Linked DNA regions of Homo sapiens: region 1 is linked to region 2. Evidence: promoter capture Hi-C in human tissues and cell types (Jung and others, 2019). All regions are on one chromosome and are shown on one strand. Each heading gives the region's core, a stretch centred on a gene start or on the middle of the fragment in contact. The rest is flanking DNA. Distances are from core to core; before and after follow the strand shown.

Region 1 (7,016 bases), core at 2,740-5,239, 130 kb before region 2:
CAGATTGGACGCTCGTTTCAAGAGCCTCTCGCACCAGCCCAAGTGCCTGTGGGCACCATCCAGTCAAGGTGGGGGATCTGAGGAAGCTGGGCAAGGCACTGCTGGGCAGCCCACCTCTCCTCACCTATGAGCAGGGCTTGGGTCCCGAGGGCTGCCCGCAGCTTCCCAGGCACCAGCATCTGGCTGGAAGTGTCTCCTCCCTCTAGTACCCAACCAAGTTCGGGGCCAGAGCAGGCAGGCAGGGCCAAGGGAAGACCCTCCTCCCATATAGCACAGCCCCTCCTTCCAAAGCCAGGACCTCCTGCCCCAGCTAAGCCCCTCACCTGGCCCCACGTGCCCACACACCTGCCCAGGACCCCATGCCTGCCCAGGGTCCCCCTCCCCAGGCACTGCTCAGCCCCACCATGTGGCCGCTCACCACACCACCATACCCCACACACCCTCCTGGACTCTCTCGGAACTGCCCCTTGGGGGTTCAGAGCATGGGCTCAGGAACCAGGTGGTCTGGGTTCAAATCTCAGCTCCACCACTTCCCAGCTGTGTGACCTAGGGCAAGTTACTTAACCTCTCTGTGCCTCGATTTCCTCCTCTGAAACATGTGGCTGACCAAGCGCCCACCTCGCAGGACTAAATGCCCTAATGTATGGAGAGCACTCAGAAGAGCGCCTGCAACACAACAGGCACCGGAAGGGCAGGGTGTGCGGGCATCCTCCTCGTCCTTACGCACGACCTGTCCCTGCAGCCTGCAGGTCTGAGGACAGGGCCCGTGTCACAGCAACTGCGAGCCTCACACACAGTAGGTGCTCCGTGACTACTGGCATCCAGGCCCCAAAGGCACTGGATCAGCTAACACCCTGTCCCGGCCCATTTCAGTTCAAGCAGGACTTGGTCATCACCTACTGTGTACCACAGACCTACAGGCGCTGGGCATGACTGAGCCAGGCCTGCGCCTGGGAGGGCCTCTCTGGAGGCCCAGAAAGGATACAGGGAGCTGCCTCGCAGGCCCTGCCTCAACACAGCTGAGGGAGAGAGGAGGTGGGGCAGGGGGCTGCAGGTATGAGGGGAGCCCCTCCAGCCTCCAGCAAACCTAGTTCCCAGCCCTTGCCGCGTCTCTTATCCAAGAATCCCAAGGCAGCAGTCCCCATCCAGCCCGCCTCTTCCCCAGGTGGGGACCTTTTCAGGGCCTCCCCAGCCTTATCCCATTCCCTACCATGTCCCAGCAGCCCCGTGGCTTGGGTGGAGTCAATGACATCATCCCCAACTGTAGAGAAAGTCCCATGAGCCAAAACCAGGCAGCCTCACTCCATCTCCCCGGCATCAGCCACTGGTTCACAGGACGCAGGCCCTCTCCTGGCCTAATCAGAGCATCTGTGATACCATCCGAGAAAGCACAGCTCTCTCCGGCTCCCACCTGCTATGGGAATTCAGGTTCAGTTTGTCAATGTTCTAACATAAGGAGTTGAAAAAACTGCACAGGAATGAAGGGGCTGGGTGCAGTGCTCACACCTGTGATCCCAGCGCTTTGGGAGGCCGAGGCGGGTGCATCACCTGAGGTCGGGAGTTCAAGACCAGCCTGGTCAATGGAGTGAAACCTTCTCTACTAAAAATACAAAAATTAGCCGGGCTTGGTGGCGGGCGCCTGTAATCCCAGCTACTTGGGAGGCTGAGGCAGGAGAATTGCTTGAACCCGAGAGGCGGAGGCTGCAGTGAGTAGAGACCCTGCCACTGCACTCCAACCTGGGTGACAGAGCGAAACTCCATCTCAAAAATAAATAATAAATAAATAAACAAATAAAATGAAATGAAATGTAATGAAATGAAATGAAGGCAAGACTTGAGTTGAAAGACTATTCCTGCCATCTACACCCAACAGACATTTCCAGCTACAGCCATTCCTTTCCTGTTGAAGCCCATCTGAGTCCGCGCTTCTTCCCCTGACAGCTGGGAGAATACTCAACCCTGATCTCCTCCGGGGAATGGGTGATGGCCACGGCCGCCTGAAACCACCACCACATGCCTCTGGCAGACCCAGCCTCCCCGCCGTGGGCTGAGATCCACAGCCTACAGTGAGAAGCAGGAATCAGCATCCTTTTCTGTTTGGATGAGGCCACTGGCCACAAATGCAGGCTCAGGGAAAGGGGGCTCAATGCTTGTCCACTGTCTCAGTTTCCCTGAGCCTGGACCTGGGCCCAGTGCACCAGGAAAGGCTCATTTGTAAGGGTGCGCCTGCGGCCCCTGCTGCCCGGCACACAGCCCACCCTGATCCTCCACCTCTCTCCAAAACCTCTCTTTCTGCCTGAAAAGCCCAGGACAGGTCCCGTGACCAGGGCTTAGCAACTAATTTTCCAGGCCAACATTTTGCTTTCTTCCCTTCCAGGCTGGAAGAGGGGCCATAGAGCCCCCCCACCCCCACCCACCCTGGGGCCTTCTGGAAGCAGCTGTTGTCTTTCCTCCTTTCCTGGCCGGCCTTGGCTTTTCCTCCGCAGCCTGGACACTCAGGGAGGACACAGCTGCGGAACTGACAGGGCCCCGGCAGGTGTGGCCCCCTGTGCGCTCGATTCTCCCCAGATCTCAAGGAAAGCTGATGGGGGCCACGGTGTGGACTTACCCATTGTTTCCGAGCGTGATTCCTCCTCTTGAAGTACAAGATTAGCTTCTTCCGCATCGCCTGGTTTCTGTGCAGGAGGGAAGCGGCAGACAGGTCAGCCCGGCCGGGCTCAGGCGCTGCACCCCGTGCCATCCTGTTTGCTGAGAGTGAGCCCCAAATTTGCCCCGTTATTGGTTCTCAGGGAGATGAGACCCACCCGTGCTGTATCCCCAGAGAGACCTGTGAGCTGCCAACGTGCATCCTTACTCCCCCGCGCGCGAGGCAGCCCCCGCCAACGTTTAGGTTGAGCCCAGTGTGCAGGCAAGAGGGTTCCCAGAGCCGAGGGGCCTGTGGCTTCCCGCCCCCGCCCACATGCACCCCGGCAGCCACATCTGCCCACGGAAAGATGGCCACGGAGAAACAGCCACAGCCTCCAACTAGGAATACAGGCCACAGAGCCCGAGACCCCGAGACCTGCTGCCGCCCACAGGCCGGGTGTCAGAGTGTGGCCTGTGTGGCCCCAGGATTGGCTCCAACCAGGTGCTGTGCATGGACCTCCAGCACACCCAGTCCTGCTGCGGGGGGAGGGACACAAGCAGTGTGGGGCAGCTGGTGGGGCCACCAGGCATGGACTTCAGGAAACCCCCGGGCGGGGGCGGTCTCAGACTTCAGGGCAGGGCCCATGGGGTCTCAACCAAGCAGGTTACACACACCACTGCAGGCTCCAAGAGAAGGAGGCACGTCCTGGGAGACGGGAGTTTCAGAGAGAGAGAGGGAGACAGAGACCCAGAAAGAGAGGGAGACAGAGACCCAGAGAGACAGGGAAACAGAGAACCAGAGAGAGAGAGAGAGACAGAGACCCAGAGAGACAGAGAGAGAGAGAGAGAGAGAGAGAGAGAGACGGAGACCCAGAGAGAGGGAGACAGAGACCCAGAGACAGAGGGAGACAGAGACCCAGAGACAGAGGAAGACAGAGACCCAGAGAGAGGGAGACAGAGACCCAGAGAGAGAGAGACGGAGACCCAGAGACAGAGGGAGAGAGAGACCCAGAGACAGAGGGAGACAGAGACCCAGAGAGAGAGAGATGGAGACCCTGAGACAGAGGGAGACAGAGACCCAGAGAGAGAGAGATGGAGACCCTGAGACAGAGGGAGACAGAGACCCAGAGAGAGAAACAGAGACCCAGAGACAGAGGGAGAGACAGAGACCCAGAGACAGAGACCCAGAGACAGAGGGAGACAGAAACCCAGAGAGAGGGAAACAGAGACCCAGAGAGAGAGAGACGGAGACCCAGAGACAGAGGGAGACAGAGACCCAGAGACAGAGGGAGACAGAGACCCAGAGAGAGAGAGATGGAGACCCTGAGACAGAGGGAGAGAGAGACCCAGAGAGAGAGAGACAGAGACCCAGAGACAGAGGGAGAGACAGAGACCCAGAGAGAGAGGGAGACAGAGACCCGGAGACAGAGGGAGACAGAGACCCAGAGACAGAGGGAGACAGAGACCCAGAGAGAGAGAGAGAGAGACAGAGACCCAGAGAGGGAAACAGGGACCCAGAGAGAGGGAGACAGAGACCCAGAGAAAGAGGGAAACAGAGACCCAGAGAGAGAGAGACGGAGACAGAGACCCAGAGAGGGAAACAGGGACCCAGAGAGAGGGAGACAGACAGGGAGACAGAGGTGAGAAAGAGACAGAGACTGGGAGAAGGGGAGACACAGAGACGGAGATAGATAGACAGATGAGATCCAAGAAAGGACAGAGACCTGGAGATGGACAGGAGATGAGACTGAGAGGTGAGACTGGAGTGAGAGAGATGAGAAAGAGAGGATCAGAGAGAGAGAGAGAGGCAGTCACAGAGAGACAAGATCCAAAGGAAGGGGACAGAGACTCAGAGGAAGATGAAACTAGGAGAGGGAAAGAGAGAGAAGTGGGGAGAGGGAAAGAGACAAGACCCGAAGAAAGGGGACAGGGACCCTGAGACAGGCAAAGGGAGGGAGCCCTGGAGAGTAGAGGCGGGAGGTTCTGGAGCCCACGCCATGAGGGCTGGAAGACACCCCCACCCACTGCTGCACCGAGACCCCAGGACCGTCCTCTTCTCTTCCCAGGCCCCTCCCCACGGTCTCCAACACACAAAGCAGGGTGCTGCAGCTGGCCTCCCAGGGCCTGGGGGGCCACAGCGACCTCAGGAGCCTGCTGTGCACCTTAACTTGCTGTCTGTCCCCAATCCGCGGCATTCAGTGGCACCCGCTTTTCTGGGGAGGGGATCCCCAACTTTTTCATATTCTCAGCAGTGTCCAAACCCCCTCAAAAGTTCCAAAGCTACTGACTGGGAGCCACGCTATGTCCAGCCCCCGGGACCCCAGCCCCATTGGAAACAGGAAAAGGAGGGAACCCCAGGCTCTGACGGACGAGTGAAGCCTCATGGGGCTCAAGGGCCTGGAATCCACCTCAGTCCCCGGGTCATTCTGGTGGTGACTTGGCCAGGGCCTCCCCACCTTCCATCAGTCTGGCCGCCGCCCCCCGGCCAGGGTGGGCCATGGGGGTCCTCAGTCCCACAGGCTAGGACCAGCACCCTTCATCTCATAACAGGGTGTCTCTGAGCACACCTCAGAAGCCCTCAGTTTCCTCATCTGAAATCTATGGCATCGCAGCCTCATCTTCTGTTATTCAATAACTGTTTACTGAGCATCTACTATGTGCCAGGCACTGTTCCAGGTGCTGGGGACACAGCAGGGAGCAAGACACAGTTGAGGGCTCTCACAGAGGTGACACTGACAATAAGCAAGATGACCAAGATAATCCTGGATTTGGGAACTTAAATGGAATGGTGGGCTAGTGGGTGCTGGGGGACGGGGTGTGAGGGGCTATTTTAGATTCCGTGGTGCAGAAAGATCTCCCAGAGAGGATGGCCTTGAGCTGGGATCTACGTCATCAGAAGGACCCGGCTCTGGGAAGATCCAGAAGGAAGGGAACTCCAGCTGGAGGGCACCGCAGGAGACAGGAACAAACTCTGTGTATCGGAAGCACAGACAGAGGAAGGCCCTGTGGCTGGACAGTGCTGGGGAGGGGCAGAGAGGACGGAGGAGGGGCTGTGAGCAAGACTGGCAGGGCCAGTCCTGCAGGGTCCTGTGAGTTTCGACATGGCAAAGGGTTTGGTCTTTTATGCAAAAGACAGCTGTGAAGGCCTAGAAGCAGTGAAGGCCCAGGCGCCATGAGCACAGCAGCACCCATATCTCAGCAAAGACCATCCTCCAATCCCAGAAACCGCGCTGCCCGGGCCATGGCTGATTCCAGCGCTCGGCCAGGAAGTATGCAAGAAGAGCCCAGAGTGACTTTAAGTCAAGAATTGCCAAAAACAAAAGAAAACAAAAGTCAAAAGGACACAGAACCCAGCCTGAAGGTTTCCGGCTGCCAGAGCTGGAACAATGTGAGTGACAACAGAAATAACCCTGGGACTAGATTAGCGTCCCAGGAATAAAACAAATCCCCACGAGTCCATGTGATTACAAACAAATGATTCAATACATCAATACATGGAGGAGAAGGGACAGATCTTTCTTCTAGAGTTCCAATGAATAAATGTCCAAGAGAGGAGGGAAACAGAAAATCGTCATTAGAACGCAGTAATAACCCAACCACCGCTGGCAAGATCCGGGGATGAATGCTAAATTGGTTGGCAAAATTTTAAGGAGCAACAGGAAATTTGCACAGTCTCAAAGAATCTCCCCGCAAGTATGTATGAATCATGGCGGTGGCTCCACAAATCTATATTCCTCCCTCCAGGAGGCGGAGCTTAACTCCCCTGCCCTGGAAGATGGGTGGGACTTGGTGACTCCCTAGTAAAGAACAGAGCAAAGGAGGGATAACTCTAAGGCGACAGCGGAGACCTAGGGCAGAGCCCCCTATCATGTGGGCATCACGCAGCCCCCTTACCTCTCTCTGGTCTTCCCCAAAACCCACCATCCCAGTCTTACCAGGAGGAAACACCTGTCAAAGAAAGCCATGACCAGTGATCTTCAAAAGTGCTGGGGTGGTGAAAAACAAGGCAAGGCTGAGAAGCCGTCACGGGCTGGAGACTAAAGAGACACGAGCACAAATGTCACGTGAGAACCTGAATCAGATCCTGGACCAGAAAACAGACGTTGGCGGAGAGACGGGTGAAAATGCAAAGACAGCTGGTAGTTTAGCAGAGGGTCATGTGCCACTATTTCTTTCTTAGTATTTTGTTTTGTTTTGTTTTGATTTTTGTTTTTAGAGACAGGGTCTTACTCTGTCTCCCAGGCGGGAGTGCAGTGGCTCGATCATGGCTCACTGCATCCTTGAACTCCTGGGCTCAAGCAATCCTCCTGCCTCAGCCTCCTGAGTAGCTGGAACTACAGGTACATGCCACCATACTTGGCTAATTTATTTTTTGGTAGAGATGAGGTCTT
Region 2 (7,430 bases), core at 3,202-5,701:
CCTGGGCCCACTGCTTGTAAATGGCCAAGCTGGAACTTCCAATGCTAAATCAGCGGCTCTCTTGGGGATGGCAGATGAAACACTCCGAGATTGTCCTCTAATATCTGGTTAGGACAATTCTTTCTAGATTTATAAACCAAAAGCTCCTTCCTCAAGGCTAGCTGGAGCCAAGTGGGCAGGGCAGTGTGGAAGTGTCCAGGCTCAGAAGCCTCACTCTGCTCCAAAATAGACATGATAATAACAATGATGCTAAGTTCATTCATCATAAGCACAGGTCCCTCCGCTGTGCAACCTCAGGCGAGCCTGGACCTGTGCCCTCATCTGTAAAATGGGAATGAAGCCGCCATCTGCCCCAGGGCCTCACTGAGCAGAAGCCCTCCGGCTACACAGTACCCGAGGGCAACGCGCCCAGCCTATGGGCACTCCAGGCCACAGAACTCTGCCGCTGCAGCTTTCTGGAGCACCATGCTAAATAATTCAAAACCATGTTTTCATTTCAAAACAAACACAGCAGTGTCGCCAAGGCGAATGCCAAATTTGCATGAATGTTTCAGATAAAATGAGACCTCAAAGAAATGCCAGGCCCTATCCTTCTCCCCAAACCCTGGGGAGAACGAGTTCTCAGTCTCCTGCCCCACCTGGGGCAAAGATCCGTAGGTGCTGCTCAAAGAAGAAACATCATTTCTTTCTTCATATCCTCTACGGCAGCTTTGCAAAGCAGGTCTGCAGTAAATTCCTGCTGCACTAACACGACCGTGAATAATCCCAGGTCTTAATTCGTAGTTCCACATCCAAGCTGTGTGACCTTGGGCAAGTTACTTAACCTCTCTGTGCCTCAAGTTCACCATCTATAAAATAAGATAATAAAAGCACCAACTCATAGAGGAGTTATGAAGAGTAAACAAGCAGATTTGCGTAGAGCACGGTTCCTGGCACACAGTAGGTGTTGGTTCTTATTACTAGCGTATGATCCACAGCCTTTTCCAACATGGAGGCTGAGAGTTCGCCGGATGGGTTGTAAAGTCAGTTCCCTGGCTCCAAGCTCCCTCAAAAGATGCCCAGCTGGCCTTTCCCAAGCATCACTTCCCTGGGGACCACACGCACCCACCTAGGGACACAGACCTTCTGTCACCCTTGGCCTGGGCCTAAAAAACCTGGCTCTCCCCAGGCAGCAGCTCAAGCTTGGGGCCCTCCTTGCCCCTCCCCTGGGCACCTCAGGCAGGAGTTACCAGCTCCCACCGGCAGTTCCCCAGTCTCAAAAGTGTCACCTGGGGAGGCTGCTGTTTAGCGTTTGAGATGTGAAGAGGAAACAGGGAAGGGAAAACACACACACACAAATAAAAGCTCTCAACCCCCGCCACCCCACCCCCACCCCCACCCCCGGCCCACGGTCAGAGGCAGCATTTGTGGGGCTTTTCAGTTCAGACAGCGGCAGGAGGAGGGGCTGAGAGCCTGTCTCCTCTGCCTTAAAATCTCCCTTCCCACAGACAGGACCCCAGGAGAACCCTCCGGCTGGGTTCTGCGTAGGTACCACCCCCGCCTCCCATCTCCGAGTGAAGCACCAACTTCTCCACCCACACTCTCAGATGGGGGTTGGGAACACAGAACTATGAATGCGCCCCCTCTCAGCCAGGGGGAAACGGGGCCAGGCAGCCTCCACATCCAGCATGAATGGCAGACGCTGGGGGCCAGGACTCCTGGGGCTAGCTTCCAACTCCCTCGGTGGGTGTCTGCGCTGCCAGCGCCCCCTGCCCCCCACCCCCAGGCCCCGAGAACAATCAAGCCGTCCCCAGCCCAGGGCTTCCATGCAGTAAATTCGTGTTTGCAGAGCTCTGGGAAATCTTTAGGAGGTGGCATGAGTATTATTAATTGGGGAAAAAGAACAGATTATGCCAAATAAATCCTTCCCACATAACCAAACCCTCTCCGAGAGGGGGAGGGGGAGAGCGCAGCCCCAGGAGGGGTCTCCATCCCTCACCAGGGCCTGACAGCCACATTACCATTTACATGGATTTATCAATAGTATTGATCCCCAGCAGCGTAAATAGCTCAGTGGGAAGAGGCCAGGGCTGGGGCCTGCTGCGCTCCCGCCCCCATGTCTGGGCACCGGCACCACAGACTCCCCCGGCACCCGCTGGCGGTGGCAGCAGTGAATTTCCAAGCAGGGACACGGCAGGCGGCTCAGGGAAGCCAGACAGAGCCCGGGATGCCCTGGCAGCCGCGCTGCCGACTCGCCAGTCACCGCTGGCTCCACCCCCCCTTCATTGCTCTGCTGGGCCTGACTCAGTCTTTGCATCTGTTCAATGGGCGGGGGCACCTGCCCTTCTCCATCCTCTCCGGACAAGCAGAGGGGAGTGGGAAAAGGCCCCCTCCCTCCCCCAGATCCCCCCACTGTCCACCCCCAGCCAAAGGTAAGGTGGCCCCTTTTCACAGGGCTTCCAGACCACGTTGGATTAAAGGCCCAATCTTAGAACCCAGGAATAATAATACCGACACAGTAGTCATAGTAACACATACAAGTACCAAGGGATTCTTATGGCCGGACGGTCAGCTCTCACAACCACTCTGTGAACTCAGTACCATTTTGACCCTCATTTTGCAGATGGGAAACCTGACAGGCACAGAGAAGTTAAGCATCTGTCCAGGGTCACACTGCCAGGAAAGTGGCAAAGGTCAGAGTCAAACCCCAGGAGCTGAGGTGCAGAGTGGGCCATCCCACCTCACTGCTGCTTGCCATTTCTCGGCCCCTCCTCAGCACCCCCAAAGAGGCCACCCACGAGGTACACAGCCTGCCCCGGGTCGCCCTCCCGGCGCAGTCTGGCCCGGAGAGCCCCTTATATCAAAGCTGCCGCAAGGACCCAGATCTGGCTGAAAAGGGGCAAAGTCAAGGCCACCGGTAACACATCCCAACGCGCCCAGAACTCCCCCACCCCGCCCACAGGGTCCTCCCCTTATCCCCTCCTCCCCTCTTCCCTCCCTCACACATCCTTCCTCCAAATCTGCAAAAAGGGAAAAATAATAATAATCACAATAAAACCAGTTCTCACCAACGGGGGAGAGGAGGAGGGGGAGGAAGGGAGGAGGCTGAGCCGACAGAACAGATCCGCCCCCGCTGCCTGCACCAGACCCTCGGAGAGCCGGAGCGCGCGACAGGCGGCGGGAGGACACTCGCTTCCAAAAAAATAAACCTACAATGTAAAAATAACGCCGGGCGCCCCACGCTAATTGGGCCCGGGCGACAGCAGCTCCCAGGTACAGCCTGTCTCTCCCTCCCGCCCGCCGTGCCCTCCCGCCCTCGGCTTGCTCCTCCTGCAAGTGTCTGGGGCGGGGAGGGCGTACCCCACGGGTGCCCTCACTCCCCGCAGGCCTCTGAGGAAGCTGCCCTCTAGACAAGGGTCTGGGTCTTCCCAGTCGTGCCCAAGTGGGATCAGCTCTGAATTCCAACTTCGCAAAGTAGTGGCATCCCAAGTATCCGCACAGCCCGGGGGAGGGACTAGGAGGCGGCCCAATGAGGCGTCACCAGCCACGGGAGGCAGGCCCAGACACCAGGAACACCGGCCCGCGGGGGAGGGGGACCAGGGGCGACTCTCCCGAGGGACCCCGCCCAGCGCCCCGTGGCCCCACGCCTAGGAGGGACAAGGCTGGCTCTCCCCCTCGGCTGGTGAGAGACCCTCATGCGCCCCTCCACAACAGCCAGGCCAGGGAGCTAGGGGTACCATCTCCAAGGGCTTTCAAACCCGCGCTGCCCGATGGAAAATAAGGCGCAGTGTCGCCCCGCCAGGTCCGGGGCTACACCGGGTACAAGGGACGCCTGGCGGCCAAGTCCCCAGAGCCGGCGCACACTGTGGGGGGCCGCTCTGTGCATTTCCAGCGCGCCCCCCGCCCACCCCAACGCCACTTCCCTCCTTCCCGCCCCCTCGCTAGGGAGCTGGAGTTCCCCTAAGTTCCCCGGCGCCCCCGAGCACGCGGGCCGCAGTGTCGGCGGGGCGCCTTGCTCCCCAGCAGGCCACCCCCCGAGAGCGCCAACTCGGGAGTGCAGGGGCCCCGCCAACTCCGCCGCGTGCGCCGCCCGATCCTCCCCGGATCCCCCGGAAGCGCGCTCCGCGCCTCCCCCCGCCCTTCGCGGGGACCCTCGGCCCCAACTCACCTCGCGGAGGTGGCAGCGGTGGCGCCCGGGCTTGGGGCGCGCTCGGGCCGCCGGGGCGCTCAGGCAAGTGGCGGTGCCGATCGGGCTGGGGGCGCGCAGCAGGCCCGGCCTCGGGTCGGGACGCGATCCTCCCGCCGCCGCCTCCTAGGGCGCCGGCCCTGGGTCCCCGGCCCGCAAGTTGGCGCGCATCGCGGAGCGCAGGGCGCGGGCGCAGGGCTCGGGCGGGGCGCCGGCGGACGCGGGGCTCCGGTGCGGCCCGGCCTGCCCGCGGCTCCGCGCTCCCCGGCGGCCGCGGCGGCGGTGGCGGCGGCGGCGGCGGCGGCGGCGGCGGGAGGGGGAGGAGGGGGCGGGGCGCGAGCCCGGGAGGCGGTGGCTCGGCCTCCCTGCTCCCGGCTCCCCGCCCGCAGCGACGCGCCCCGGCCCGGCCCCCTCTGGCTCCTTAAAGGGCCCGCGCCTTCTCTCCAGGCCCTGCGCGTCCCCACTCGCGCGCGCACGCCGCCACACACACAGACACGCACGCACACACTTGGGCGCGACGCCGAGTTTCTTTTTGGCAGCTCCCCGAGGAGGAAGGAGGGGGGAAGCGCCTCCCAGCCTTCCCCTCCCTCTTCTCCTGCGGGCCCGGGGGCCCTCCTCCTCCTCTCCAGCCCCAGTACCTCACTGGAATCGCGTTTCAGCTATTAAATTATAACTCTGGAGTGGCCGCTGGATGGGGAGGGGGCGCGCAGGGAGGGCCCTACACAGGGCCTTTTAGGAGCACGCCCAGTGGGGCACTTGGGGACGGGAGCAGACAGTAGCGCAGAGCCCTCTCCAGGCAGGAACACGCTGGGCCTCCCCAGACCCGAGACCCAGCCCGGGCGAACACACTGCAGACTCACCACCCACCACGGACCGGAGATGTCAGATCTCACACAGACAAATACTGGGACACCCACGCGAGTTCACAGCACCCCGGAGGACACAGACGCTAGAATGCCAGTTTCCTGAGGGCAGAGATTTCTATTTTGTTCACTGCCCTATCGCAGTAGGGACTCACGAATGTGTTGAGTGAAGTCCCACTTGGGGACATTCAGGGACACAAATGCGGAGACAATGCAACGAGCCTGTGTCCCCCCCGCCCCCCCCACACACACACACAGACACACACATCCCAAAGCGTGACCCTGGGAGCCACACACGCCCGGCCTGCACAAGCACGCAGTCACAGACGGCACACATGTGCTCGCTCCCCCACGCACAGGCAGACACTCTCCGCTCCAGCAGGAACCTGGCCCCCCTGGCCGCCCTGACAACCCAGTGTCCTCATTTACCCCCTCCTCCCACCCCCTCCAGGTTTGCCCTCTCCAACCAGGGCAGATCTCTTTGAACAGCAGAGGGCACTGGGAGCCCTGGGCCTGGAGCCTCCCTCCCTCCCTCCTCTTCTGCTTTCTCCTAAGATGTTGGAGAGTTTGAATTTTTTTTTTTTTTTTCAGTTCAACTTTCCTTTTTTGGAGTGACGTCTCAGCAGATTCAGTTCTGCCATCTGGCAACATCTGAGAACCCCCAGGGAGAGCGGGGAATGGCTGCGGTGGGGAGGCAGCCGCGTGGTTTCCAGAGGCCGGCGGGCCTCCCGCCTCCGCCAGGATGCTGGGTTTGCCGGGCTCCCCTGCAGCCAGGTCCTTCTCTGCCCCCTCGGGCTTTTAATTATGAGCTTTTGGGGGGCTGGCGGGAGCCTCTGGGGCTGACAATGTCTGGCAAAAGGGAAGTGGGTGTGGAGGGGAGCAGTTTGCAGACTGAAACAGGAGGGGTCATAGGTCAGTGCCCCCCCCCCACCTCCTTGTTTTGGCCCGACCAGCTCCAGTTCTGCCCAGCCAGTCGGTCCGAATCCACAGGCAAAAAGCTGGAGCCGCAGAAGGAAGGCCTGATCCCCCACCTCCCCCACCAAGGGTCTTGGAGAGGGAAGCGGGGGCGGGGGAGCTCCTCTGCCAGCCCCAGGCCGCCTGGCAGCCCTCCTCTGTCACCTGAAAACCCTCTGGGAATTTGCATTTCCATGAGATTCAGCTCTATTTGAAGCTGGAGGAGGGACATTTGGGGTGTCTTCAGGGGTCTCCCAGCTTCTGCCCTCGAGGGCTCCCTGCAGGCTTAGGAGCGGGGAAAGCAGGGGGTCTGTCAGCTTTGTAATGTCCCAAGCGTCACCTAGAAATCCCTCACTGGAAGCCTTATCAACTCAAGCGCCAATGGCCTCTGGCCCGACCATGTCACAGATGGCAAGACTGAGGCCAGGAGAAGGGCAGCGTTTATCCCGAAAGGGATTGGCCCTTTCCCGTCTGCTCCTGTTTCCTGGCTGAATTGGGTTATTAATCTCACCCTCACAGACGGCGGGGAGTAACACCAGCACTGAGTGAGCACTTACCCTGGGGGAAGCAAGGGGCCTGGTCCCAAGTAGGGAAACAGGCCTGGAGAGATGAAGAACCCGACTTGCCAGCCTCCAGCAGCAGCCCGTGATTCCAAATGAGTGCTGGAAATCTGGACTCTGGGGAGGTCTCAGCTGAGCCCGCCCCTTCCCCCAATCGCAGACCGGCACCCTAGTTTGCTACTTTGTTTCTACTGGGCTCTGAGTGACAGTCCATGAGCAACTAATGGGAACAGTACCTTTAAAAAGCGGCCAAAGAACACTGCACACAAACAGCCTTCCCGGGGGGGCCCCCTGGACTGTGAGTTAGTAACAGTAACAGCTAAGAGCTTCCCAAACATCTCAATTGCCTTTGTGAGGGAAAGACTTTCAACATACCCATTTTACAGGAAGGGAGAGGGAGACTCAGTTGGGAAGTCACCAGGGACACTGGGAAGCATGTTGTATGTGTCCCAGGCCAGGCTGCAGCTGGCTGGAGCATGCTGTATATATATCCAGGGGGCTCCCGTCCAGTTGGCGCCAATTTCTGCCCCTTGGGCTTTGTCTCTACCATCTCCGGCCCAATCCTTCAACCATTCCTTCCTAAAGACTCCCTCCAATCCTTCAACCATTCCTTTCTAAGTACTTGGCAAAATAGTCCAGCTCATCCCCGCCTCAACACCTTTGCACTTGCTGTTCCGTCTGCCTGAGACTGTCATCTTCTATCTTCAGGTCCCAGCTCCTTAGAGAGTCCCTTGCAGCAGGGTGCAGTGGCTCATGCCTGTAATCTCAGCACTTTGGGAGGCCGAGGTGGGTGGATCACCTGAGGTCGGGAGTTCGAGACCAGCTTGACCAAAATGGAGAAACCCTGTCTCTACCAAAAATACAAAATCAGCCAGGTGTGGTGGCACA

Evidence for each region. Contacts are between HindIII fragments. The study calls those that stand out against the background at their distance.
Region 1: a fragment that was not itself captured here is called in contact with the fragment with the promoter of NCOR2 in region 2 in 2 of the 25 tissues and cell types used here (H1 embryonic stem cells and dorsolateral prefrontal cortex).

What each region holds. Positions count from the first base shown.
Region 1 is chr12:124,435,322-124,442,337 of GRCh38, forward strand. NCOR2 (nuclear receptor corepressor 2) reads right to left here. Exons shown (of 49, transcript NM_006312.6): 10 at 2,609-2,675. Among named protein-coding and RNA genes, the nearest start is that of MIR6880, 100 kb to the left of the region's middle. RefSeq lists enhancers at 3,166-3,265, 4,140-4,859, 4,860-5,580. The HindIII fragment of the contact is 9,749 bases long and covers 1-7,016 here.
Region 2 is chr12:124,563,161-124,570,590 of GRCh38, forward strand. It overlaps NCOR2 (nuclear receptor corepressor 2), which reads right to left and starts at 4,452. Exons shown (of 49, transcript NM_006312.6): 1 at 4,148-4,452. RefSeq lists silencers at 3,198-3,297, 3,498-3,717, 3,858-3,967, 3,988-4,347, 4,458-4,707 and enhancers at 4,828-4,877, 5,044-5,904, 5,905-6,765. The HindIII fragment of the contact is 12,918 bases long and covers 1-7,430 here.